Linked DNA regions of Homo sapiens: regions 1, 2, 4, 5 and 6 are each linked to region 3. The links are contacts of gene promoters, found by promoter capture Hi-C in blood cells and fetal thymus (Javierre and others, 2016). All regions are on one chromosome and are shown on one strand. Each heading gives the region's core, a stretch centred on a gene start or on the middle of the fragment in contact. The rest is flanking DNA. Distances are from core to core; before and after follow the strand shown.

The links. Contacts are between HindIII fragments. The CHiCAGO score rates a contact against its expected background, and 5 or more counts as called.
Region 1: a contact is called between a fragment that was not itself captured here and the fragment with the promoter of FBXO4 in region 3, in 1 of 17 cell types (M1 macrophages). The highest score is 6.1, in M1 macrophages.
Region 2: a fragment that was not itself captured here is called in contact with the fragment with the promoter of FBXO4 in region 3 in 4 of 17 cell types (M1 macrophages, M2 macrophages, M0 macrophages and 1 more); the score reaches 6.3 in M1 macrophages.
Region 4: a contact is called between a fragment that was not itself captured here and the fragment with the promoter of FBXO4 in region 3, in 3 of 17 cell types (M1 macrophages, M2 macrophages and M0 macrophages). The highest score is 7.5, in M1 macrophages.
Region 5: a contact is called between a fragment that was not itself captured here and the fragment with the promoter of FBXO4 in region 3, in 4 of 17 cell types (erythroblasts, M2 macrophages, megakaryocytes and 1 more). The highest score is 8.7, in erythroblasts.
Region 6: a fragment that was not itself captured here is called in contact with the fragment with the promoter of FBXO4 in region 3 in 2 of 17 cell types (naive B cells and total B cells); the score reaches 11.3 in naive B cells.

What each region holds. Positions count from the first base shown.
Region 1 is chr5:42,799,715-42,804,156 of GRCh38, forward strand. CCDC152 (coiled-coil domain containing 152) reads left to right here. Exons shown (of 9, transcript NM_001134848.2): 9 at 1-2,725. The coding sequence ends at 67. It overlaps SELENOP (selenoprotein P), which reads right to left. Exons shown (of 5, transcript NM_005410.4): 5 at 166-1,617. The coding sequence ends at 1,006. Among named protein-coding and RNA genes, the nearest start is that of SELENOP, 10 kb to the right of the region's middle. RefSeq lists an enhancer at 4,018-4,442. The HindIII fragment of the contact is 756 bases long and covers 1,649-2,404 here.
Region 2 is chr5:42,720,214-42,724,185 of GRCh38, forward strand. GHR (growth hormone receptor) reads left to right here. Exons shown (of 10, transcript NM_000163.5): 10 at 1-1,665. Among named protein-coding and RNA genes, the nearest start is that of CCDC152, 35 kb to the right of the region's middle. The HindIII fragment of the contact is 2,576 bases long and covers 1,181-3,756 here.
Region 3 is chr5:41,923,031-41,926,944 of GRCh38, forward strand. FBXO4 (F-box protein 4) reads left to right here and starts at 2,251. Exons shown (of 7, transcript NM_012176.3): 1 at 2,251-2,468. The coding sequence starts at 2,280. RefSeq lists a silencer at 2,509-2,688. The HindIII fragment of the contact is 6,278 bases long and covers 786-3,914 here.
Region 4 is chr5:42,777,879-42,781,811 of GRCh38, forward strand. CCDC152 (coiled-coil domain containing 152) reads left to right here. Exons shown (of 9, transcript NM_001134848.2): 5 at 1,580-1,644. Among named protein-coding and RNA genes, the nearest start is that of CCDC152, 23 kb to the left of the region's middle. The HindIII fragment of the contact is 5,271 bases long and covers 1-3,933 here.
Region 5 is chr5:42,877,835-42,882,165 of GRCh38, forward strand. No RefSeq gene overlaps it. Among named protein-coding and RNA genes, the nearest start is that of SELENOP, 68 kb to the left of the region's middle. The HindIII fragment of the contact is 687 bases long and covers 1,526-2,212 here.
Region 6 is chr5:42,652,569-42,656,623 of GRCh38, forward strand. The region is part of intron 3 of GHR (growth hormone receptor); the gene reads left to right. Among named protein-coding and RNA genes, the nearest start is that of CCDC152, 100 kb to the right of the region's middle. The HindIII fragment of the contact is 1,212 bases long and covers 2,111-3,322 here.

The DNA of each region.
Region 1 (4,442 bases), core at 777-3,276, 880 kb after region 3:
CATTCGCGATTTAGAGCAACGCCTTTCTGTTGGCAAAGATTCTCACCTTAAGCGTAGACGGTTTTGAGCTTAGCAGTAAATTCATTAGTTGGTATTTATTTAAAAGCAATCGAAAGTTTCACTTCTGTTTTCAATATATGCATACAGCCTACATAACAAACGAAGTCAGCTTTAAGGTTTTTATTGAATTTATTTGGACAAATCCGTACTGTATCCAATTCTGTACTGCATTCTTGCTTAATAGTATTAACCATAAAGGAGGTCAGGTTTATAGGGTTTGGTTTACCTATTAAACCATCATTGACTATGGAAATACTTACTAAGCAATATAGAGACAGACAATATTATCTTTCCCCTTATATCTTTTAAGACAGCCACTCAAGTTTTAGAAGAGTATGATACAACATTAGAGAAAGAAAGATACAAAGGCTTTATTCATGTGTGATAGTAAAAATCAGGATGAGTCTTAGATATACAAAAGATAAATGGATATTTAAAATAGTTATATATGCTTTTTTAGCAAAATATTCACGTGTTAAGTATTTCTGGATCTTAAAATACAAAATCCACTTATTTTATTAGTTAAAAGTAGAAGATTGAAAAGACAAAGTAATATTGTTTTGAGAGATAAGTAAAGAAAAAAATGGAAAGCATGTCTTTGTTGTTCTTCCTCCATTCTAAACTGCTAATTATCCAACAGAAACCCCTAGGTCATAGTTTACGTTTCTATTCTCATTAAAGCAAATAGAACACTGGAAAAAGAAAAAAAAAGACATATTAACCAAAAGCTGCAATCACCTTTCAGTTGCTCCATCATAAAAAATATGGTTTGAGTCAATATTTCTATGACATAAAATTTAAAATCTGGAAGCCAATTCAGTAGATTTCTCCATGTTTGCACAAATCTAATTTCTATTTTTGGTTCACTAATTTGGTAGTTTATAAAAATGCTGGAAATGAAATTGTGTCTAGACTAAATTGGGGAGTATGTCCTATTTTAAATATTTAGTTTGAAGGTCATTCTCACTTTTTTGCCTGATTCTTTCAGCGTCAACTGGCACTGGCTTCTGTGGGTATAAGCTGCTGACTTATTTGTCAGGCAGCTGGAGGCAAACGTCACTGACAAGATTCAGTTATGTTCTCCTCTGCCCGAAGTCCCTGTCAGCTACATAAAGATGGGAGGTTTTCTTTACACTGTCAGGTGATTGCAGACCCTGTTTTTTCAAATATCAGATGTCGACAATGGCAGCATCAGCTCCTAGGAGCCAACTCTGAATCTGTGGGCAATTTACAGAGTAATTGATTTATACATCTCTTTCGACAGAGCTTCTTTTGTAAATCTTGTAAATCTTCACTTGCTGGCATATCTCGGTTCTCTGGGTGACCCTGCCTATGCTGACCCTTGTGCTTATGGTGGTGATGAAGGCCTGGAGGAGCAGGATGAGTAGGAGCATTTGGTGCTCCTGGTTGCTGATTCTCTGAAAGCTCACTGCTGCCAAGGTGCTGATGTCCATGATTGTGATGATGCTCATGATGGTAATGAGGCGATGGAGTTTCAACTGTTTTATCCACAGTAGCCAAAGATACACGTTTACAAAAGTCTTCATCTTTGAGAGTCTGGAACAAATTTATAAATCACTTTTTAACAAGCTTATAGAGATAGGAATAATGCGTGAAAAATGATTTGTAGAGCTAACATGTGAAATTCCAACTAGTTAATTAGAATCGAGCTGGCTTTGTATTATATTAATGAGAAAGAGTCTGATGTTAGTCTCAACACCTAGACATTTTATTAAAGGCTTAAAAAGAAAGCCAAACCACTGTACTTATATTTGCAGAAGCAAATGAAGTAAACTGGCAAAAGGAACTTGGATTGCAGGAAAGTCAAAGTAATATCAAATCCTAAATTCAGTTGATCTGGGCCGAGCATGGTGGCTCATGCCTGTAATCCCACCACTTTGGGTGGCCGAGGGGGGCAGATTACTTGGGCTCAGGAGTCGGAGACCAGCCTGGGCAACATGGCGAGATCCTGTCTCTGCAAAATATACAAAAATTAGCTGGGTGTGGTGTCAGATGCCTGTAGTCCCAGCTACTTGTGAGGCTGAGGTGGGAGGATCGTTTGAGCCTGCAAGATGGAGGTTGCAGTGAGCTCAGATGGTGCCACTGCACTCCAGCCTGGGTGACAGAGTCAGACCCTATCTCAAAAAAATAAAAAATAAATAAAAAATCAGTTGAACTATATGGAAACTTCTGTACCTGTGTCAACGGTGCATCTTATCTAATACTATATGATACTGTAATCTAATATTATCTCTGATAATTCAAAAATGCTAATAAACTCTGCTCAAATGTGTTAGTTTTTCATACTTCATCCTATGCCAGGAAATGTTTTGAACTTCACCAAAGCTTTGCTAATGTCTCCCTACCATAAGGCTGTCAGCTGAAAATAGCAAATTACTGCCCGACTCCCATTGACCATAATATCCATTCCGCATGATCCTAGTTCTTTAATTTACTGGAAGTCTTTACTGTTTTGTGGTACCTACTAATCAGAGACTCAAAGCCTATAGATACAGAAATGTAACAGTAAATCTCAACCTAAGGCTAATTTGCAAATAAAATTACAAAATCAACTTAGAACCCAAAGACTCACTAAGTGATATGCTTTTGATGTTTTGAAGGTTTTAAAAGGTTATAAATTCCATTAAATTTTAGCATACAACTACTAAGTGGTACTTTATTTGGTTATTTCTGAATTACTTCTACATTAGAAGCTAATAATGTTTGCTTACAAACTTATAAAGAATTTGATACATGTTTAAAATATACTGTGTAATGTTCAAAGTGTTCAAGGTTTAAACAAACACAAATACCTATGGTAGTAGTCTAATTTCTTTCATTTATTTATTTATTTAGTGACGGAGTCTCACTCTTTCGCCAGGCTGGAGTGCAGTGGCACGACCTCGACTCACTGCAACTTCCGCCTCCTAGGTTCAAGTGATTCTCCTGCCCCAGCCTCCCAAGCAGCTGGGATTGCAGACACGTGCCACCACGCCCAGCTAATTTTTGTATTTTTAGTAGAGATGGGGTTTCACCATGTTGGCCAGGATGGTCTCGATCTATTGACCTCGTGATTCATCCACCTCGGCCTCCCAAAGTGCTGGGATTACAGGCGTGGGCCACCGCACCCTGCCAGTAGTCTAATTTCAGAAACGAATTACTATATTTTACTGATTATGTGATGCATATTTCTTTAGATTTTAATATCTCTAAAATTAGAATGTACCATACTGTTGGTGGTGGTTTCTCACTGTATCCTACTTTAATTAGCAGCATTTTTTTTTCCTAAATACTACATAAGATAATATGTCAAATAATCAGTGGTATCTAGGAGACAATGAAATAGAAAAACTCCAATCGGATTTGGCATATCAGATACTAATAGTGTCTGATCTGTAATTTGTATTTACAGATGATTCACACATTTTAAGCATATTGTGGTAACTATTAACTGCCTTTTTCAATATAACTGGGTATATTTATAACTAGCAAGCATTTGCACAAATGAGAAATGCAGAAATAATCCCAAAATATGAGGAATCATTATAATTAGTATTTATTAAATGCTTAGTATAGGTTGAGTTAGTACTTTTCTTTCATTACTCTTAGTATTTTCTTCCATTACCTCAGTCTCCTCATCTTTAAAAATAGTAAAATAACCCTCAAAAGATCATTATAAAGATTAAAATGTGAAAATTACATAACTAGAGTAAGTAACTTATACTCCTTAACAACTAAATTAATTAATTAAATTCGTTAAAAATTTGAGGCGGCTTTCTTTAGACCTGGGGAAAATCTGAAGGAAATACAACTTACAGATAAAATTGTGAATTGTTTTTAAACCTAAGTTCAAATTTTCCCAATCTGACTTCTCAATGGAACATTGTTTAGAATTATTTTCCTTTTTGTTATGAAGGAAAACAAGTCTAGTTAATACAAATTAAATTCTTTGAGTGCCTTTTTTATTTAAAAAAGATTTAAATATAGTTCTTCTCATAACAAAGAAGAAATATTTTCATGGTTGTTAGGAAATAAATACCAGTAATGAGTAGAAAACTTACTCCATTTTGAAGTAAACTCAGACTGCAGATGGGCAGGCAGTGGAAGGGCTTCAGGAAAAATCTGATAGCCTTGCATCTTCAATAAATTAAGTAGTTTCTGGCCCCAGTTCCATTCCAAGTAATGCTGTGGGTAAGCTTTGCTATTTTTATGTTCTTGTGCTAACATGTTCAGGTTACTACAATAACATTGCTTTTTTGTGTTGACTAAATTTTTTGAGCACTTATGCCCATGCAACGTCATTTGGTGGTAACTGAAATACGATACATTGATTTTTAATTTCTAAAGCTCTTCTAGATAAAGGCAGCAACATCGATCTTCAA
Region 2 (3,972 bases), core at 1,219-3,718, 800 kb after region 3:
AATTTTTAAACAAGTATTTGTTAATTTAGAAAACTTTAAAGCGTTTGCACAGATCAACTTACCAGGCACCAAAAGAAGTAAAAGCAAAAAAGAAAACCTTTCTTCACCAAATCTTGGTTGATGCCAAAAAAAAATACATGCTAAGAGAAGTAGAAATCATAGCTGGTTCACACTGACCAAGATACTTAAGTGCTGCAATTGCACGCGGAGTGAGTTTTTTAGTGCGTGCAGATGGTGAGAGATAAGATCTATAGCCTCTGCAGCGGAATCTGTTCACACCCAACTTGGTTTTGCTACATAATTATCCAGGAAGGGAATAAGGTACAAGAAGCATTTTGTAAGTTGAAGCAAATCGAATGAAATTAACTGGGTAATGAAACAAAGAGTTCAAGAAATAAGTTTTTGTTTCACAGCCTATAACCAGACACATACTCATTTTTCATGATAATGAACAGAACATAGACAGAAGAAACAAGGTTTTCAGTCCCCACAGATAACTGAAAATTATTTAAACCGCTAAAAGAAACTTTCTTTCTCACTAAATCTTTTATAGGATTTATTTAAAATAGCAAAAGAAGAAGTTTCATCATTTTTTACTTCCTCTCTGAGTGGACTGGCCTCAAAGCAAGCATTCAGAAGAAAAAGAAGCAACCTCAGTAATTTAGAAATCATTTTGCAATCCCTTAATATCCTAAACATCATTCATTTTTGTTGTTGTTGTTGTTGTTGAGACAGAGTCTCGCTCTGTCGCCAGGCTAGAGTGCGGTGGCGCGATCTTGACTCACTGCAATCTCCACCTCCCACAGGTTCAGGCGATTCCCGTGCCTCAGCCTCCTGAGTAGCTGGGACTACAGGCACGCACCACCATGCCAGGCTAATTTTTTTGTATTTTAGCAGAGACGGGGTTTCACCATGTTGGCCAGGATGGTCTCGATCTCCTGACCTCGTGATCCACCCGACTCGGCCTCCCAAAGTGCTGGGATTACAGGTGTAAGCCACCGTGCCCAGCCCTAAACATCATTCTTGAGAGCATTGGGATATCTCCTGAAAAGGTTTATGAAAAAGAAGAATCTCATCTCAGTGAAGAATACTTCTCATTTTTTAAAAAAGCTTAAAACTTTGAAGTTAGCTTTAACTTAAATAGTATTTCCCATTTATCGCAGACCTTTTTTAGGAAGCAAGCTTAATGGCTGATAATTTTAAATTCTCTCTCTTGCAGGAAGGACTATGAAAAGCTAGAATTGAGTGTTTAAAGTTCAACATGTTATTTGTAATAGATGTTTGATAGATTTTCTGCTACTTTGCTGCTATGGTTTTCTCCAAGAGCTACATAATTTAGTTTCATATAAAGTATCATCAGTGTAGAACCTAATTCAATTCAAAGCTGTGTGTTTGGAAGACTATCTTACTATTTCACAACAGCCTGACAACATTTCTATAGCCAAAAATAGCTAAATACCTCAATCAGTCTCAGAATGTCATTTTGGTACTTTGGTGGCCACATAAGCCATTATTCACTAGTATGACTAGTTGTGTCTGGCAGTTTATATTTAACTCTCTTTATGTCTGTGGATTTTTTCCTTCAAAGTTTAATAAATTTATTTTCTTGGATTCCTGATAGTGTGCTTCTGTTATCAAACACCAACATAAAAATGATCTAAACCACTCTGTATACTGTGAATTATCATTGTAAGGAGAGCTTAGCACCACTGGATCAAATACATCAGCATTGGGTATGGAGATTTTTATGTGCTGAGATATAGAGAGGGAAACATATCCCCCTTCCCTTATTTTTTGAGAAGACAAAAGCCCAACTCAGAAATATCCCACTGGCTTGGCCCTCCCCTTAGGCTGTGACTCCCCATAGGCAAAGGTTCATAGAGCTGTGTATTTGATGCATCATGGAAAATAAATGACATGGGTGTTGGATGAGGGAGAGTGATATGTGAGCATTATCTTTACATTTCCAGCTTGAGCATGTTGTCTGGAAGGAAGGAAAGCAGCTCTTCCTCTGCCATTCACCCATTGGCCTAAGTCAGTTTATTGGACTAGCTGCTTGTTATCATGGGAATCAGCTAATAAGTCAGGCTTGGGAGGAAGGCTGATTAGGTAAGTTGTGTAGGAGCCTGAGAGAGCCATGAAGTTTAGATTCCTACAGCAGGAGGCAGGATGCAGGTGAGGTAGCTGCTGAACCCTAGGCTCCTGAGCAGGCACTGGATTCTGAGATGTAGGAATCTGGTGAGGACATTGATAAACCTACTAAACAATGACGTATTGCTTCAGCAAGTCAAATGCAAAGTGCCACAACTTTTTATAATACTCAAGTGTTATGTTAAAAAAAAAAAATGTCTTCACCTGCTGCCCTCTGCCCTGTGAGCAGCCATTACCTGAAAGAACCATGGAGTGAAGCCTCAGGGCTTCTTCATATAGATGCTTTAAGATATGAGGAGTACAGGGAAAAGAAAGCCTGCCTACTTCCATGGATTGAAATAACACAATTCTATTTCAGAAGATTAATGGTGTGTTGAAAATGGCTACACACATCTTTCAGCATTTCAATTTCTCAAAGTTTCTACTAACACTTTATTCAAGTGCTATAATATTTACATATTTACATATTTGTATACCAAAATATGTCTTGTTATGTGCTTGTTTTAGGGTAAGAAATAGTGACCAGAAAAACCAGAAGTTACTTAAATCTAAACTTTTTAGTTTGGAATCCAAGATCCCACATAATTTGCCCCAGTCTCCTTTGAGAGTTTAAAATTTAAGACCTAGATGTAAAGGGCACAGCTTCTGAATAAGAATTTGATGTTTGGTTAACATTCAAACTCTATTGCTGTGGAAATCTAATGAGCATATGATGTCAGCTATGTTACACGGGAAACATTGCTCATAGTTTAAATGATCTCTGACTGATAAATGACATCTGGATAGGGAGAAACTATAACCACCTGGAGATAAGTTATACTTTGGACTTGAGTGTAGTGACTTGTAATTAAGCATTTCCCCTATAGAAACTCTGGAAGCTATGTTTCTGGAGATGTAACAAGAGTAACTGGCTCCAGTGAGGCATAGAGCTTCTAAGCCTGGGAGACTCCTTTACCTGCCCAATACCTTCTCTGAATCTGAGCTGCCAGTTGTAGGAGGAGAGGAAGGAAAAGACCTTCTGGATAGCTATATAAACAGCTGTTTAGATTGCTTCATGCACTGTTATCATTACTGTGACTCTAAAGCAGAAAGCCTGATGCTGTATCCCTTCTGTCCTACATCCCTCTGAGTAGACTGGAACCAAGTATGGTGAATCTGGGGAATGTGTGGTTGAGCCTAAGAAGATCCCCTTGCATATGTAGCAAAAGACACTTGCCATTTCTTGAACAAAGTTTGTGCTTTCCCATCTCTATGTTCTTGGTCATGCCTCCTCCTTCAACTAAAAAGCTCCCACTTACCAACCCTGCCTGTCAAGATTCCCTTCATCCTTCATGGCCCAGCTCTAATGCCTCCTTCATGAACTCTCCTCTGATTCCCACCATCCAATCAGTGATTTTTTCTTCTGAACCATGTTTAATGGTGTTTATCACATTACTTTGGTAGCTCACCTGACAAACGGCTAGTATAGATTTACCAGTATGTACGCTGGTGAATATCTATCTCCAAAATGCCCTTGAATGGATAATTTTGTGGTCAAATAAATTTGGAAAACATCTCATACTACACTCCCATCTGGGAGAGTCATAGTGCATCTTGACATTTTAAAGCTTCTACAGTTTAAAGAAATCCATTTAAATTTAACACATTATTTCCTAATTAATAATGAGAAATAGTTAAAGAATACCCAGTATTATATTATTAACACTTAGGAAAAACCGTATAAGCAGAGTAACACACCTGGCACAAAATAAAGTTATATTAAATTTCAGATGAATGTGAATTTGAACAAAACCTTTTATATGATGTCATTAAATTTTTACT
Region 3 (3,914 bases), core at 1,001-3,500:
TTAAATTGTTAATCATAACTATGTTAATATAATTAGAAATGAGGATTTTTAGTGTATGAGAAAAGATACATACAAAATCAAAGAGTAAAAACAATCTGTAATCCTAAATTTGAATGGGAAATAACACGAAGTTATGTTTTCTCTATATAAAAGACACTAGAAAGGCCTGGAAACCATGTTCAAATACCATTCCCGTCAAAATGAGCCAGAGTTTTCTGGAAATATAGCTAATTCTGGCTTGAGCAGGACAATCAAATGACTGACGGAAAATTTTTCTTTAATTCAGCTAATAAAAGGAATTATAGAACTAGAATACTAACATTTTATAACTTGTAAGCAAATAATATTCATTGATAAATGCTCTATCTTTGAGGTGAAAAACTTACAGGAAATTTGAATGGATCAGCCCAGTGAAACCACTGATCACTCCGAACATTAGAAAATGAGAATGACTTGTAGCTTTCAGTCTCAGTATATAATACCATTTACGAATGTGTTAAAGACACTATTGAGATGCCATTAATAGTGTGCAGGCCGTGTTCAGTGGGTCACACTTGTAATCCTAGCACTTTGGAAGGCCACAGCAGGAGGATCACTTGAGCCTGGGAGGTCGAGACCAGCCTGGAAAACATGGTGAAACTCCATCTCTACTAACAAAAAAAAAAAAAAAAGAAGAAGAAGAATATAGAAAAAAGAAAGTCCAGAGTGGTCCAGAAAGACCAACCTGCTTTCTTTAACAAATATCAAGGGAAAATAAAGGAGGGGGAGCTATACAATGAAACTTAAGCTTTAAGAGTATCCGTAATGTGTGACCCTTGTTGGGCTATGATTCAAACAAATCAAATGTGAAAAATTATTTTCAAAGCAGATGGGGAAGTTAAACACTGACTCGGTATTTGGTGATTTTAATGAATTAAAATTGCTTAGGTACAGTGGTCTGTTTCTTAAAATCTGTTTTTTTTAGGGACGGATACTGAGATATTTACAGATGATAGGTCTGGGATTTGTTTCAAAAGGATCCAGAATTGGGGGTGTAGTATTAGGTGAGTATAGCAACAGCACAAGATTAACCAGGTGTTGGTAATGGAATCTTGGATACTGGGCACACAGGAGCATATTATTCACTCTCCTTTTATAAATGTTCAAAATTTTCCGTAATAAAGTTTTTCTCATTCATTTAACAGATATCATTTTAATACTTTATACTTGAACTGATTTTTTTTCTTGCTCTAGTTCGTTTTTTGCTCTCAAAGTAAATCGTGTCCTAGAAAGTGATGAGAAATGCCATATGGTTAATCCGTGGTCCTTGTCCAGATTGCCTCCCAAAAACGAGGCTGCAATTTTATTGGTTATTGGCCCCTACCAACAACATGCAAATAATAAAATGTAATGAAACTTAAACTTGTATGTTACAGAGCCTTGCAGAACCTTAGTTATCAGGCTTTCTTGGATTCTGTTGACATTTAGATCCTCAGAGATTTACTTTTTGAATGTATACATACCCAGTTCTATGTAACAGATTAACTTGTAATACGTTCTCTTAAAGCACTTTTAAAGTAAGCCCAAAGTAAGTAGAATGGGCATCTGGTTTGAGAATTAAAAAACTCACTAGTGGGATTTCAACACCACCACATCTGGGTTCTTCTAGCCGTTTTTTGCCGCCCTTGCAAATTTTAAATGTGCTTATATTTTTGCATAGTGGGTCCAGACTTCTCATTTTGGCAAAAGGTTCTTTGTAATTGGCCCGCTGACTGCCTCTCTAGTCTGTTTTTGCTGATACTCAAGAAAATAAATGGTAACTTGGTGATTGAGGAAATAACACACACAAAAAACACCCCATACGTAGTATGGTAGTGCTGAAAAGGAAGCAAGTGGTTATTAAGCCCAAGACAGTGGCAGAGGTCTATCGAACAAGCGGAGTCGCCTAGGACCAGGCATAGTGGAAATGATCCCGGAGAGAACATCTTGAATGAAGCCAGGAAGTCAGCGGGCCAGAGGTTGTACAGGGGCTCTGCGGTTGGCGTGGCTGAGGTTGAGGCCACAAGTTACTGGGGAAGTTAATTGTTGACAGGAGCTTCGTACTCGGCTCACAGCCACGCACAGTGGGCTTCCTCCCAGTACCCGCCCTTGCCCCTGGGCCTAACCCTGCCCTGGAGGCGGACTCGCGGGAGAAGCGGGAGGCGGAACGCCCGAGGGCGCCCTCGGCTGGCGCGGAGCTGCGCAGGAGGCTGACGCGCTAGCGTGGCTCTAAGACGCGTCACCCACGCTGCGGGCAAGCCATGGCGGGAAGCGAGCCGCGCAGCGGAACAAACTCGCCGCCGCCGCCCTTCAGCGACTGGGGCCGCCTGGAGGCGGCCATCCTCAGCGGCTGGAAGACCTTCTGGCAGTCAGTGAGCAAGGAGAGGGTGGCGCGTACGACCTCACGGGAGGAGGTGGATGAGGCGGCCAGCACCCTGACGCGGCTGCCGGTGAGCGTCGGCCGCAGGCCGCGGAGGACAGTGGGGCCGGCCCGGGCCGGAGGGACCTCCCCTGGAGCCCCCCGGGGCCTGGGGAACTCTCGCGCCCCGGCCTGGGTCTGGCTCCGTCCATGCAGCCATTCCTGGCAGTGTAGTCACCGAGAAGCTACAGTTGATCAGAAGCGTCTTGGCGTGGACCCTGGTGCTCCGCAGGGGGCCCGAACATCTCAGGGAAGCACCTTCATGGGGCCCCTGGGGACCCTCCCGATCGCCCTCAGGTTTTCCACCCGCCAAAACAGGCACATGTGACTAGGACACCCTGAATGTCCGGTTACGGAAATGAGACAGTTCCCAACTTGCTGATTAGCTTGGGAAAGCATTCCAGCGTCCCTGTTCCCAGCGTCTTTGATTCCGGATCACTGTACCAAAACACTTGGAGGGCCAAGGTTTTTACCCTCTCAAGAGGACATTGTGCCTGTGGCTGTTATTGTGTATTTGAAGAAACAAAACGGCCCCTCAGTTGAAAATAAATGACTTAAGTTACAAGTGCCTCAAGTTACATCAAGGCCACGAGAATGACACACATAACTTATTGTTAAACTTTGGGGTAGATAGGTAAATGAAGAGAACAAAAATTATTGAAAATTATTACAATTCTTTGTCTCATTTGGACTATTGACACCTCTCTCCAATGTGTATATCAACGTGAAAGCTGCAGGTTTAGAATGCCTCCAAGTTTCTCCTTGCAGAGGTTTTTCATAACATTTTAATAGATTCTGTAGAGGAACTAAGATGACAAATTTACGGCCGGGCGCGGTGGCTCACGCCTGTAATCCCAGCACTTTGGGAGACCCAGGTGGGCGGATCACGAGGTCAGGAGATCAAGACCATCCTGGCTAACACGGTGAAACCCCGTCTCTACTAAAAATATAAAAAATTAGCCGGGCTTGGTGGCAGGCGCCTGTAGTCCCAGCTACTTGGGAGGCTGAGGCAGGAGCATGGCGTGAACCTGGGAGACGGAGCTTGCAGTGAGCCGAGATCTTGCCACTGCACTCCAGCCTGGGCGACAGAGCGAGACTGTGTCTCAAAAAAGAAAAAGACAAATGTACACTCTTTGATTTGGTCTGATGATAAAATCAGATAAAGGTTGATATGGGTTTTATTTTGAAGGACAAATTATTTCCTTAACTAATTTATGTAACTAACTGGTATATCCAAATATCTCTGAGGAAAAATTAAAGGAACTGGTGATTTTGCTGGAAAAATAGCAAGACAGTGGTTGCTTTTTCAGGAATGTTTCAGGTGTTTCAGAAATTAAATGTTTAACAACTACGAAACTAAAATGTTCAGTTATGATCCTTTGCTGATAGCAGGAAAATAATAGATTTAATTATTAATGGTAGATTTAGTTATTAAAAATACTAGTCAGTTGACCTTTTGTTATTTATTTGTTGATTA
Region 4 (3,933 bases), core at 488-2,987, 850 kb after region 3:
TTTATAGTCAAGGTTTTAATTTTAATACTGTGGTTTAATACCTCTGCAATAGTTTCATAAGTGGACTCTATTTCCAAGGCTCCTCTCAACTTTACTATACCACAAAACAAACCTTCCTAAAAGCATTATTCAGATAATGTCAAAAATCTTTACTGATTTGTTGTTTTGTTTAACTACTTCTTGGTTGTGTTTATAGTTAAGGTTGTAGAGGGGAAATTGTAATAGGATGTCTATTGAGGCTTTTCCTGTTTACCAGGAATTAGTGACTAGGGCACATGCCACAATTAACAACAAAATAGCTACATATTTCCATATTCTAGTGACATCTGCTAAAAAGTCGCCAAATGTTGGAGTGAGTCCAGACTGCATATATTTGCTACAACCACCTAAAGGACTGGAACCTCGAAGTTAAATAGAGAATTTTTTACCTCTCCTCATTTCCTGTCTCCACCCCCCAAGAGATGACCCAGAGGAAAGACAGGGAAGAGCAACTAAGGAGGAAACTAAGACTTCTTTCCCACTTCTATTGACTCTTTACAGCCACTGATCTAGCCAGTGATAAGGATCATGAAAACTTTCAATCAAATAGGAAATTACAGTTTTAAACCGACCTGGATGTTTAGTAATCAAAATTAACCACAGGGTTTTTAAAATTTGTTAAAAATATTAAGGTATTGTTTTCAGTTACCCAAACCAAAAACCTAAAAAGAAAAGGCTCCCCCTTTCTCTTTTGCCTCCTCTATCTAAAGGGTCACTAAATTCCTAGGTAATTCTATCATCTAAATAATAATTCTCCTCATTGCTTCCTTTTTTCCATACTGCCGCTGACGTAATTTAGGTTCCTGTTATCTCTTACTTGACCTATAGTTACTGATCTCCATTCCTCTAGGGTCAAAACCCTCTCATTCATCATCCACATTGCCAGATAATCGTTTTAGCATGTAACTCTCATTATTTCACTTCTGCACTATTCAAAATTCTTTGATGACTCCCTGTAACCTCTAAAACCAAAATCCAAAATTGTTCATCTAGAATATGTAGAATATGTCTACCTAGTGATAGGATCCCAACCTATATAGCATCTCCTGCTCACACTTTACACTTCAACAATACCGTACGTGAATTGTAGTTTTTCCAAGCTATATTCACTCAAGCCCATGGTCTTCTGTGCGATTTTCTGCATTTAGAATGCTCTCTCTTAACATGGGGTAAGCCTATCACTTAAATCTCGTCTCAAGTAGCTTCTCTTCTCTAAATCCTTTCCTGACTTCAAGCTGCCCTAGGTTTTCTTTTTACAGGTTCCTGTAGTATTTCAGATATACTGCCATTAAAGAGCAATTATCATAGCATATTATAACTACTAACACATTTGACTCAGCACTAGGCTGTAAGTTCTTTGAAGAGCAGTAACTCTTTTCACTTTCATATTCTCAGTGTCTAGCATGGTGCCTGAAGTGTAGCAGCTGCTGGATGCATGTTTGTTGAATGCATACATAATGGAAGCTAAAATGTTGAACATATTTTCATATTAATTGAAAAGTGCTATATATTATGATGTTCTTTGATTATTCTTACACAGGTGAAAATGAACAACTAAAAATAAGTGCTGATCTTATAAAAGAGAAGTTAAAGTCTCATGAACAGGTGAGTTTATGTATCATTCTATTCAGTCAAGTCCCTGTGGAGATTTATCTTTTCAAATTAGGAAAAAAAAAGAGGTTTTTAAATTAATAAACACAGCCAAATGTTTGTGGGTGTGTGTGTGTGTGGAGATATACGTATATATGCCAAAATCTTTAGTAAATGACAATTTGTTTTCAAAGCAATACTAGTTTTAAGAGTTTTTTTTTTTTACAAAATATAATGTACTAACAAATAACTTGCATTACTTTTTCTTTCTACCAAAAAGAGATGCAGTTATTTTGCTACATAATTTTCAATTATGTTAATAGAGGTTTTACTCTAGTAAACTCTATTTGTTACTACTTGTGAACTTTCTTATTATAATGTAAATGAATCTATACTCTTTATGATTTGGGTAATCATTACACCATTCCAATACAGGGGGCATTTCATGTGGATCACAAATTATTTCTCTCCCAGGAGCCACCATACCCTCTGCTACTTTTCCTTATCTCCTGTAGGAACAGTGTAGTGACAGCAGTTGTAGAACACATGAACAGCGTGTAAAAAGCATAAAAGATGCTAAATAAATGTCAGTTCCCTCTGCTCTTTGAGAGGTTCATTATGCTAACTTCCTCATCTCTCAAGAGCTAATATGTCAAATTCTAGCAGACAAAAGATCCTCAAAACTCAAGTTGAATCTATAGGAGCTTTCAACTTGAAGAATCTTCTCTAAATTCAGTCTGGTTCCTCATCTGAGGACCCTCTGAAGAAATCTGCCCAGAACTTCTGGTTAATCCTGTACAGTAATAAGTAGCATTCTGGCTATGCTCTTAGAAAATTTAGCTTTTCATCACCAATTTTGAGATGGTTTTTAAGTATTTCTGAAATGAATCCTACCCTTTCTCCCCCTTTCTTTTCCTTTTTCCCTTTATTCTTTCCCAATCCTTTTAATATATTGACTCTAGATCTCAAAAATAGATGGTAAAGTCAGGTTGTAATTGGGGTGGGGAACCAGGGGGAGAAAATTTGACCTGCTTTCCTTTCTAAAACTTCAAGCACTAGGATACTGCTTTGTTGAGAATACTACAGGAATGTTCAGAGGGGAAGAAATTAAAGAGAAAACACCACAACCCAAGAGTCTGAATTTCTTACTTAGGGGCTGCCCAAAGCAAACTATGACAACGCAGATTTGCTAATTCAAAACCTCTGAACACATCTAAAATTCATGGAGAAAACTCCCCAGGAACAAACTCAGGAGGTACCCAATAGCAGTATTTGTGAGAGTAGAAGGATTTTGCAACTTGTATAGAGAGAATCATTGTTTTTTATATCAAGAGTGAAACTGGAGGCTATTCCTTGGAATTTAAAATTCCCAGAAAGCATATGAAAAGAAGACAACCAATTGTAACCTATTGGGGATTAGTCTCCTTAGAAAAATGAAAAGATTACATTTTTTAGGAATGGCACAGGCTAAAGTGGAAGAGAAGATCTAGTGGGATAGAACTTGGCTCAACCCAGATAGAATAGTCTTCATGCCTGGAGGCTGAAATGCAAATCCTGGGTCTCACCGAATTAACTGGCAGCATTCCACTTTCCTGGTGACATCTTCCTGTGGCAAAAATCAGTGGAGAATAGAAAGGTACATAGGTTTGTCTCTTGTGGTTTCTCAGAGCAGCAACAGCTTAGTGCACACAGTTGTCAGGAGTAGTTTATAAAAGCTGCTCTGTAGTTGCCCATCTAGAAATCTAGATATATAGAAAATGGCAATTTGTGGGATTGCCAGCTGGGTTCACCTGCCCAGTTTTAATTAGAACCGAGAAGTTGAATAGCTTTGTCCATTCCTACAAGTTGCCTGGCAGGATAAGTAGAACAAACAGGAATCCAGACAAAATCTCTTGAACTGAGATAATATGGAGGAATGTATGCCAATTTTTAATTGTGGGCATAGAAGCCAGTGTGTCTTGACCTGTTTTAAACTGTTTAACCTCCTCAGTACCATGAAATATCTATTAAAAGCTATGAATCCTCACTGAGAAAAATGCGCGCGCGCGCACACACACACACACACACACACACATACACACACACAAATAAATACATGTATAATTTTACCTTAAAATTTGGAAGTTGATCAAAAGCCTATTCACTGGCTCTAGGTTAACAGTTCTGACCTAAATAATTCTTATTGGCACTCCCATTCATTCAAGAAATATATATCAAGATATATGTGTGTGCACATATATACATGTATTTACACACAAGGAGTTGGGAACACAATGGTGAGTCCCAGCTGTTAGGTATTAGAGG
Region 5 (4,331 bases), core at 619-3,118, 950 kb after region 3:
GTTAGGAGACTTGCCCCCATTACACACCTAAGCGATGGCACAGTCCAGACCTGAATACAGAATTTTATTCTACTTTATTATGCTGCATGTGGGTACTTATACTACAATCCCTGGGTAAAGTGGTCATTCTTAAAGTGAACTAACTTTCAAGACTGAAATTGAACATGCCTGGGCTCAAATCCAGGCTCTAATAGCTGAATGATCTTGGGCAAGCAACTGAACTTTACAGAACCTCAGCTTCATGGTTCACCAATTAAAATAATACTCTACATCAGTTACCTTGAGGATGAAAAGAGATAGCATGCAACATAGTGTGTGCCTCCAACACCACAGGTGCTCAATGTTGCTTAATATTGTCATTAATTAAGCTGTGATCAGTCACTGAACTTCAGACTGCTGCAAAGGGCTAAAGTGTCCAGAAGGCTTGAGAAAGAAGAGCCTTCTGAGGAGGAGAAAGTGGAGATTGGTTAGCTTTGTGTATTTGGTAATTCAGAGGCCTGCTAAACTCAAGAGCATATGGAGGGGTCTGGGACAAAGACCAGAGGGAAACAGAGAGCTCAAACCTTTGAGTCCCTCTTGGCTGTTTTATCAAGTTCTCTTTAAAGCAAGTGACCTTCTAACCATTGAGGACTCAAAGCCAGTAGGAAGAGCACAGAAAGTGAAAGGCATCAGAGTTGTCCTTGGGATGAAAGCAGAATCTCTGTGATGGTAGTGTTCTTGCTGGGGCAGTCATATCAGTAATATCCCTGAAAATCCTCGTACTATGACTCTAAACTTAAAAAAATAAAATAGAGACAAAAAAAGGAAGGGACGAGCAAGAAAGCTAACCCTGAAAATTTTTCAGTATCAAATTATAGCAACAGACCTTTTGTCCACCGTAGAGTTAAGAAAACTAAACAAACACTACGGTTACACAGAAACCAGATGTCTCTGCTACACTGACAGGTTGCATGCTGGAATTCCAGATGCTATTCTGTTGACCAAGATACATATTCACACATTTTTTGAATTATTGTAATCCTAAAGTGAATTGCCCAAAATGCAAAAAGAACTCCCTTTGGGGTGTTTTTTTAAAAAGGTGAGTTAGGAGAAAAAAGTTACCAATTTTATTTTAAGAACTAAAGCCAGCTACTTAAGAGTCTGAGTGTTAGGATCTGAAAAAGATAAGCTGGCTTCACTATAAAAATTGTGAATTCAGCATTTAGCTTTTTCAATGAAAAAGAAGAAAAGACTAGGAAAAAGAAGAGAATGTTTGTCCTGATATTTAGCTCTTCTCTAGGTATAGGCCACATCTTAAATCATTAGATGTCAAAAACGAAAAAGCATTTTGTAGGCCTGTGCTCAGGAAAGTGTATCAATAAGTCTATTTTCTGCTCATGCATGTGTGTGTGTGTGTGTGCGTGTGTGTGTGTGTGTGTGTGTGTGTGTTTAGGTGGGATTTGGAGTGGATTTCCATTTCCATGGGGATGGTGGGTAGTCTGGAAAGCAGAAAATCTAAAATTCTCTGTCTTGGAACTTAAAGTAAAGCTTCCTGGTGACCTACTGCCAAGCTGATGATCAGGCCTCAGCACAGGCAGGAACAGCAGACAGTCCAGCTCTGACCTCACAAAGGGAAACTTCAGTCTATAAATGCTAATCAAACATATCGCCCTGCAGGATCCACTTGTAAGAGAATTGCCTCTAGAGTGGACTTTGCTATGAACTCGTCTCTGAGGCTGTTTTATGATCTTTATGATAGTCAGGCATTGGGAGGGTGATCATTTTAGGTTACCAGGGCCCTAGCCTTGATTTGCACCATATGACCCAGGCAGATTTCCAAGAGAAAGAATCTGCAAGCCAAACCAGTGGATCTTAATCTAGAGTCTTCAGACACTCAAGGTGTCCTTGAAAGTAACAATAAAAGTCTGAGAAGTTTCTTTAAGATAGTGTTTTCTAAAAAGCATATCTTCATTTGCTCACTATAATGCTGCAAATGCTTGCTAGATCCCCAAGTTTCTATGCTTTTAGCTAAAATTATGTCATTCATTTTAGAAACAAGAGTAATTAGTCATTGACCACAAAATTCAATATGTGAAAAATCTAAGCATAAATTAGACTGGTTCCTTATATGATAGAAGTATTTTCTACTTCACTAAAATATTTGCAGTGTTTACATATTAGCATTTTCTTATATTTTTTACCTTAACTTTTTAATATATATTGAGTCACTATAAGCTTATAGTTATAATTCTGCCAATTTCCTTGAGAATTGTGTTTTCAGTTAAGTTCCCAAACAAACAAGTGTTTTAACAGACACTTGGGCTAAGAGATTGGCTAGTAGTTCTTTTTGTAAGTTGAGAATTTTAATGAGGTTAAAATATAAATTTAAAACTGTTTCATCTCTGCATGAATAAATGGACTTACTCTTCCACCATTTTATAGTGATGGTAAACAATGATAGCATGTTGATTTATTCAGAATTTGTAGTGTAAATTTCTACTGCGTAAAGTATACACACAATTTGTAAAAATTAAGGATAAAGAGGACTAATGGAGTAGCCATCTTCCTTCCCCTCCTCCTATATGCCCAAAGTAATTTAGAGTTGATTTGAAGCCACTTCTCTAGCAATTGGACTTGCATAGAATCGTGGGGGTTCACACATCACCAGCCCAGGAAACTTCAGGCTGTCCTTTGTTACTCTGTTTACTGAAATTGACATATCAGCAAGTTCAAAATTATCCTGAATAGTAGTTTTGGCATGTTCTACCTCTGGACCAGTGATAACTGTAGTCAGTGTATAATCCTTCCTGTTCAAATGGCCACACAGATTTCCTTAATGGCTTGACCTGCCAAGAGCTGGAGGCCTTAATCATCCCAGGAAAGAGGATGCCAAATACGGAGGATTTTAATTACTCTCATTTTCTTGGAGGAAAATCTCTTACAATCTTTGAAATATATTGCTTAGAACATTCCATATCTGAAAAGTAATGTTTTCTGTTAGCATCTATTGTGCAATTGGCTATAATGTGTTTACTTAAGAAAATATGGAGATGGCTTTTAACTAATTCAAAAACACAGTAAGACAGGGTATGTACACAATATTACATTTACTTAGTATGACAGTAAAGAATCCTTGTTCCCTTTTCTGGGACTTTGAGTTTAGCTCAACAAGATGGTTGCTACATAACTGTTTGAAATATTGATGCCATATAATTTTTAAAAATAGTTTTAAAGGGTGATTTGTTTTGTATTTCCTTGAACTCAAACCCTGAGACAAGGACTAGGTGCAAGCAGTTTATTTAAAAAGATCTACTAGGGAACCAGGTCAAGGGAGCTTGGAGAGGGACATGAGGAAGCAGGGAGAGCTCATGTAAGGATGCATTACTGAGGTCCCTGCCATCAGCAATGGAGATTCAATTCTGCTGGGACTTCTGAGTGGTGTACAGACTTTCTCTGAATGGTTCACCTGAAAGATGGAAGGCGGAGCAAATACTCCAACACCATTCTCCCAAGGGTTGGTCTCAAGGGCTTTAACCCCTGGCACTTCTGATCTGCTCTTGCACAAGCCAAAGATGTTCCCAGGGCCTGGGAGATGGCCTGGGGCAGAATGTGGAAAGACAAAAAGCAGGAGCCTCTTTTATTTTATATTTTATTTTGTGATAAGAGCATTTAGGATCTATGCTCTTAGAAAATTAGGTATTCAATACAGTATCTTTAACTACAGGTGCTATGCTGTACAGTAGGTCTCTAGGACTTATTTATCTTATATAACTGAAATTGTGTGCCCTTTGACCAACATCTTCCCTCTAGCGGACAGCTTGACTGCAAACTCATGACAGAATGTGGCCAAAACTACCCAGCTAAGCCACTCAGGTATTCCTGACACTGAGAAACTATAGGATATAATAGATTTTTTGTTGTTTTACGCTGTTGAGGGTAATTTATTTTGCAGCAATTGATAACCAATAGACTGTCCATATAAAGTAGAATATTGTGTGGTAATAAAATATCAGATTTTCAAAGAATTTTTGAGGATATGAAAAAGTGATGAGTATACAACATTAAGTGAAAACAGCAGGAAGCAGAACTATGTAGTGCGTGTTAATCACATCTGTTATTTTCTTCTGATCAGCAGATGTCTTTCCCCTCCTTCTTCTGCTAATAGAACTTCCCTTTCCTATGGGAAAAACATCTCACGTGTTTCAAGTGGTGCTTTGACTCCAACCCACATAGGTCAAAAACGTTAATTAGATTAAATTAAGGTAACTCATTTCCTTGGTACATCATGAAAGACAGGCTAATGAAAACAAGTCCTGGACCTTTTCTTCCTAGAACTTGGTTAAGGAAAAGAA
Region 6 (4,055 bases), core at 1,467-3,966, 730 kb after region 3:
AATATAGACTGCTTGCAGTTCCAGTGTCGAGACATTCATTATCAGATTTACCACTTGAAAATATTATCAAGATAGTATTTATATTGTGTTTACCAGGTAAACTAAGCACTTTAGTTCTGAGCACTTTACATATTTTAAATCATTAATAGTGCTGTAACAAGCCTCTGAGGTAGGTACTGTTATCCCTCTTTAACAGATAAAGAGACTGAGGCACAAGGAAGAGAAGTGACTTGCTGAAATCACACACAGCTGAATGTGGACCCTGATTCAAATCCACACATCCTGACTCAAGCATCCTTGCTCTGTACTACTGTGCTACAGTGCCTCTTTACATCCTCCTGATGTAGAAATCTTCTTCTAGAATAATGAGAAGCAGTGTGAACTTTGAAGTAGGACTTCCTGGGCATGGTGCTTTCCATCTCTGGGCCAAAGTTTTCTCATCTTTACAAAAGGATTACGATCAACCCCCATCTCATACTGTGGTTAGGAGAATTGAGCAAGACCATATACTAAAAGATGTCAGAACAGGGCCTGACAGATCATAGTGCCCAATAAACATTGGCTCTTGTTATCATCATAAATATGTTAAAATGAGCTTTAGTATGTGGATAATAGTAGCAGAATTTCCTGAATGAGACATGTTAAACATTTATTAAGCAGGCACTTTTTGGAGTTTATCTTATAATAATTCAGTAAGGTTACTCTTGTCATCCCTATTTCACTGAATTTGAGGAATCTCAGGCTGCAAGATAACGTATTAGTTTTCTAGAATCAAATAAGCAAGGATTCAAACTCAGGATATATTGACCCCAAAACCTCAGATCTTTCTGCCATCCCTATCTTGTTCTAAACCCCAGGTTTGCTCATCCGGGCCCTAGTCATTGATCAAAAAGCACCAATACAAATCAGAGTAGAGAAAGTCATATTGAGCTTGTGAGGTTGTATTATGGGCATGGTAACAAATGTAATTCAGCTGTATTGGCACAGTGCATAACAACCACACTTAATTTCTGTCCTAAGACCTGTCTGAGCCCATAAATAAAGTTACATTAATAATTACGGAATGGTAAGGGACCACTCAGAAAATCTTGGTTGATATAGGAAGTGGCATCTGTGGCTTCTAATTGAGAGATATTGCTTCTTGAATCAGTGCTAGACCATTGCTCTAGGGGGATATTAAGCCTTCTCTGTCCATGGAAGATGTGAAATTCAACAGCTGACCTGACTGCTTGTCGCTGTTGATGATCCTATAAAATTTCCTCTAAGATACGAACTCTGTGTTCTAGTCCAAATCAAGTGAATATTTCCTGTTGGTTGACCTACAACTTCAAGGGTATGAGGTCATAAGTTTAAAAAGATTCCTTTTCTCCCCAGTGTTGTAAGAGTTATTTTAGTTCTATCAAATGCTCCCAGTGAGTACTGCATATTTCCTTTTTGCCAGATACATTAGCTATTCACTCTTTTTTCCTATCTCTTCTATGCTTTTATTTTTTCCCTCATCTGTTTAACCAATGGTACCCTGAATTTTAGAACCAGACAGGTAGTAGGACAAGGCAGGTGAAAATGCACAGGTTGTAAATTTCAGAATGCACATTCAAATTCCATCGTTGTCTCTTACTAACTGAATGAATGTAGGTAAGATGCTTTACCTCTCAGAGTCTTACTTACCCCATCTATAAAATGAGAATAATACAAACTGTCTTCTGTGGTTTTCTTGAGCATTAAACGTCTCTATTTATGGAACATAGTTTCACATAGTAACTGATTCTGTACCAATGCCCTGCCCCCCATGTAGGCAAATGCATGTCCCGAAAGACCCAAAACAAGTTGTCCCTCTTTTCAAGATGAAGATTTGTAATCTCTCCTTAAACTTATCCAGTTCTGGTGTTTAATTTCCTTTATAAGCCAGAAGTTGTTTTACGTCTCACCAAATCTTATAACATGAATATTACACTGTCTTCCAAATGTGAGCCTCTAATTACCTTAGGCCAATAGCAGAGCCTCTGATCTTGTCTTTTCTCCTTTTCCGCTTACCAGACAGCACATTCTGCCTGAGAGTTGAGACCCAAAAAGATATAAATCAACTAGGGGGCAAAAATGGAGTTTCCTAAGCTTGTCCCAGAGTTTGACTCAGTAGCCTGAGGTGGAGTTCAGGGGCTTGATGTTAAAAACAAGCTACCCCAGTGGTTTTGCTGCAGGTGGACCAGACTCCCAAGACCACATTTTGCAAGCACTGGCATTTAGGAAGAGCACGTACCTACTCTAGCAGAGTTTATGCAGACTATGATTGCAGCCTAGTTTGTGCAGACTATTGATTGCAGCCACTTGGCAAGGCTCTATAAGAAAAAGCGAGCCAACATGTAAGTAAATTATCATGGCCTTGAAACTCCTCATCTGAAAGGGTTTCCTCTCATCCCCTCATCCCCTTGTGTCTGCCCCTGAATGCCAGACTATCTTCTCCAGCCCCAAGTCAACCTCTCATTTTTAAGCCATTCCTCATTCTCCTATATAGTCCAAAATAGCGAATACATTTTTAGGAATTCTCTTGCTTTATGGACGTTCATCCAAAAATATTTCATTATGAGAATAAGTGCTTAGCTTATCCTGTAGTGTCTTTCTGCTCTAATATTTGGGCCCTTCCTTTCCACATAGTTGCATTTTCTTTGACGGGCAGATGCTGCTCCTTTAATATTTTTCACACCTTTGTGCTTCTAACAGAGCAATTATTTCAGGATGAGGGCACTTGGAGAGCTGTAAGAGGATAAGGAGCCCAGGGCTCTGCCTTGGATTTGTGTACCTAAATGTTACCTAATTAGATAAACCTGAGGAAGATGTGGAAGCAAAGTAGAATGGAACAGAAAGTGTTTGAATAATAAGAATTTGGACATTGCTGCTCCGTGGTGACATTGGCAGACTCTAAGCCTCTTGCCTCATTTTATTCATTCATGTATGACGGGGTTATGCTCAGTCATAAGTCACTAAAATTTGTATTCTACATCCCATTAGTAAAGTAATTTTTGAACACATGATACATATGTTTACATATTTGTAAGTTATATATATGTACAAGGTTCTAATATATTCTGTTCATTGTCAAACATAAAATATATATAAATTTGGTTTAATATAAAATATAAAATTGGCATTAGTAGACACTGTCTACCGAAATGAGACACTGTCTCATTTCTGAAAAAAGCACAATGTATACTAAGTTAAAGGTTCATTCTTAACAGCAGTAGGAGTAGATCTTTATTTCAAATAGTCTTTGGGATAATTTCCTATTTTGGAAGACAGCTTATCAGATTTGGTTAGAGTTGATGAAAGCTTATTCTAGGGTTAAGAAAAGTATTAGCCCAGCCATTTTCTTATTGTTGATTTGGGCTTGCATAATTAGTTTTACCTTCAGTATGAAGTTTCTTTACATGAATCTTTTTAACTCACTTATTTGTTATACAATTATTAGTTAAATCAATTTTAAATCAGTATAATCTATCCACAAAATCAGTCATACAGAACCTGCAAAAAACATGTTCTAACATGTTACATGAAGAGGTAACTAAAGATACTACAAACAACCCCTCTGAACGGTAACACTCCCACTCTTCCTGCAAAATTCCTCTCATAGCAAATGCAACATGTGACTCAGACACAGGCTGACTGAAGGCTTTATGCAACTCTTACATGCTCAATATTAGAAAACTTTCATTTGTTTCCTATTTTATATAAACAACACATATAAATAAACATTTTAGTATCTTCTCATTACCCAGTGGATTGTCTTGCATGGTCCATTTTGAAGACAGTAAACTGTAGCCTCTATTTTTATTTAATTTCAAATACCTGTTTGCCAATATTCACAGCCAGCTCTTGTTAATGTTCTTTTCTGTCCTGTGAATCCTGATGTCGTATCTTGCAACATCACCTCTAAAGCCTATCTTTGCACTCCTGTCCATCCCCCATTCTCTATTATTATGCTGCCTCTGATGGCCAGAGAAAAAAATCTTGAAAATATATATTGTATTGCCCTACCTGGCGAGGAATCAGCAGTTATACAA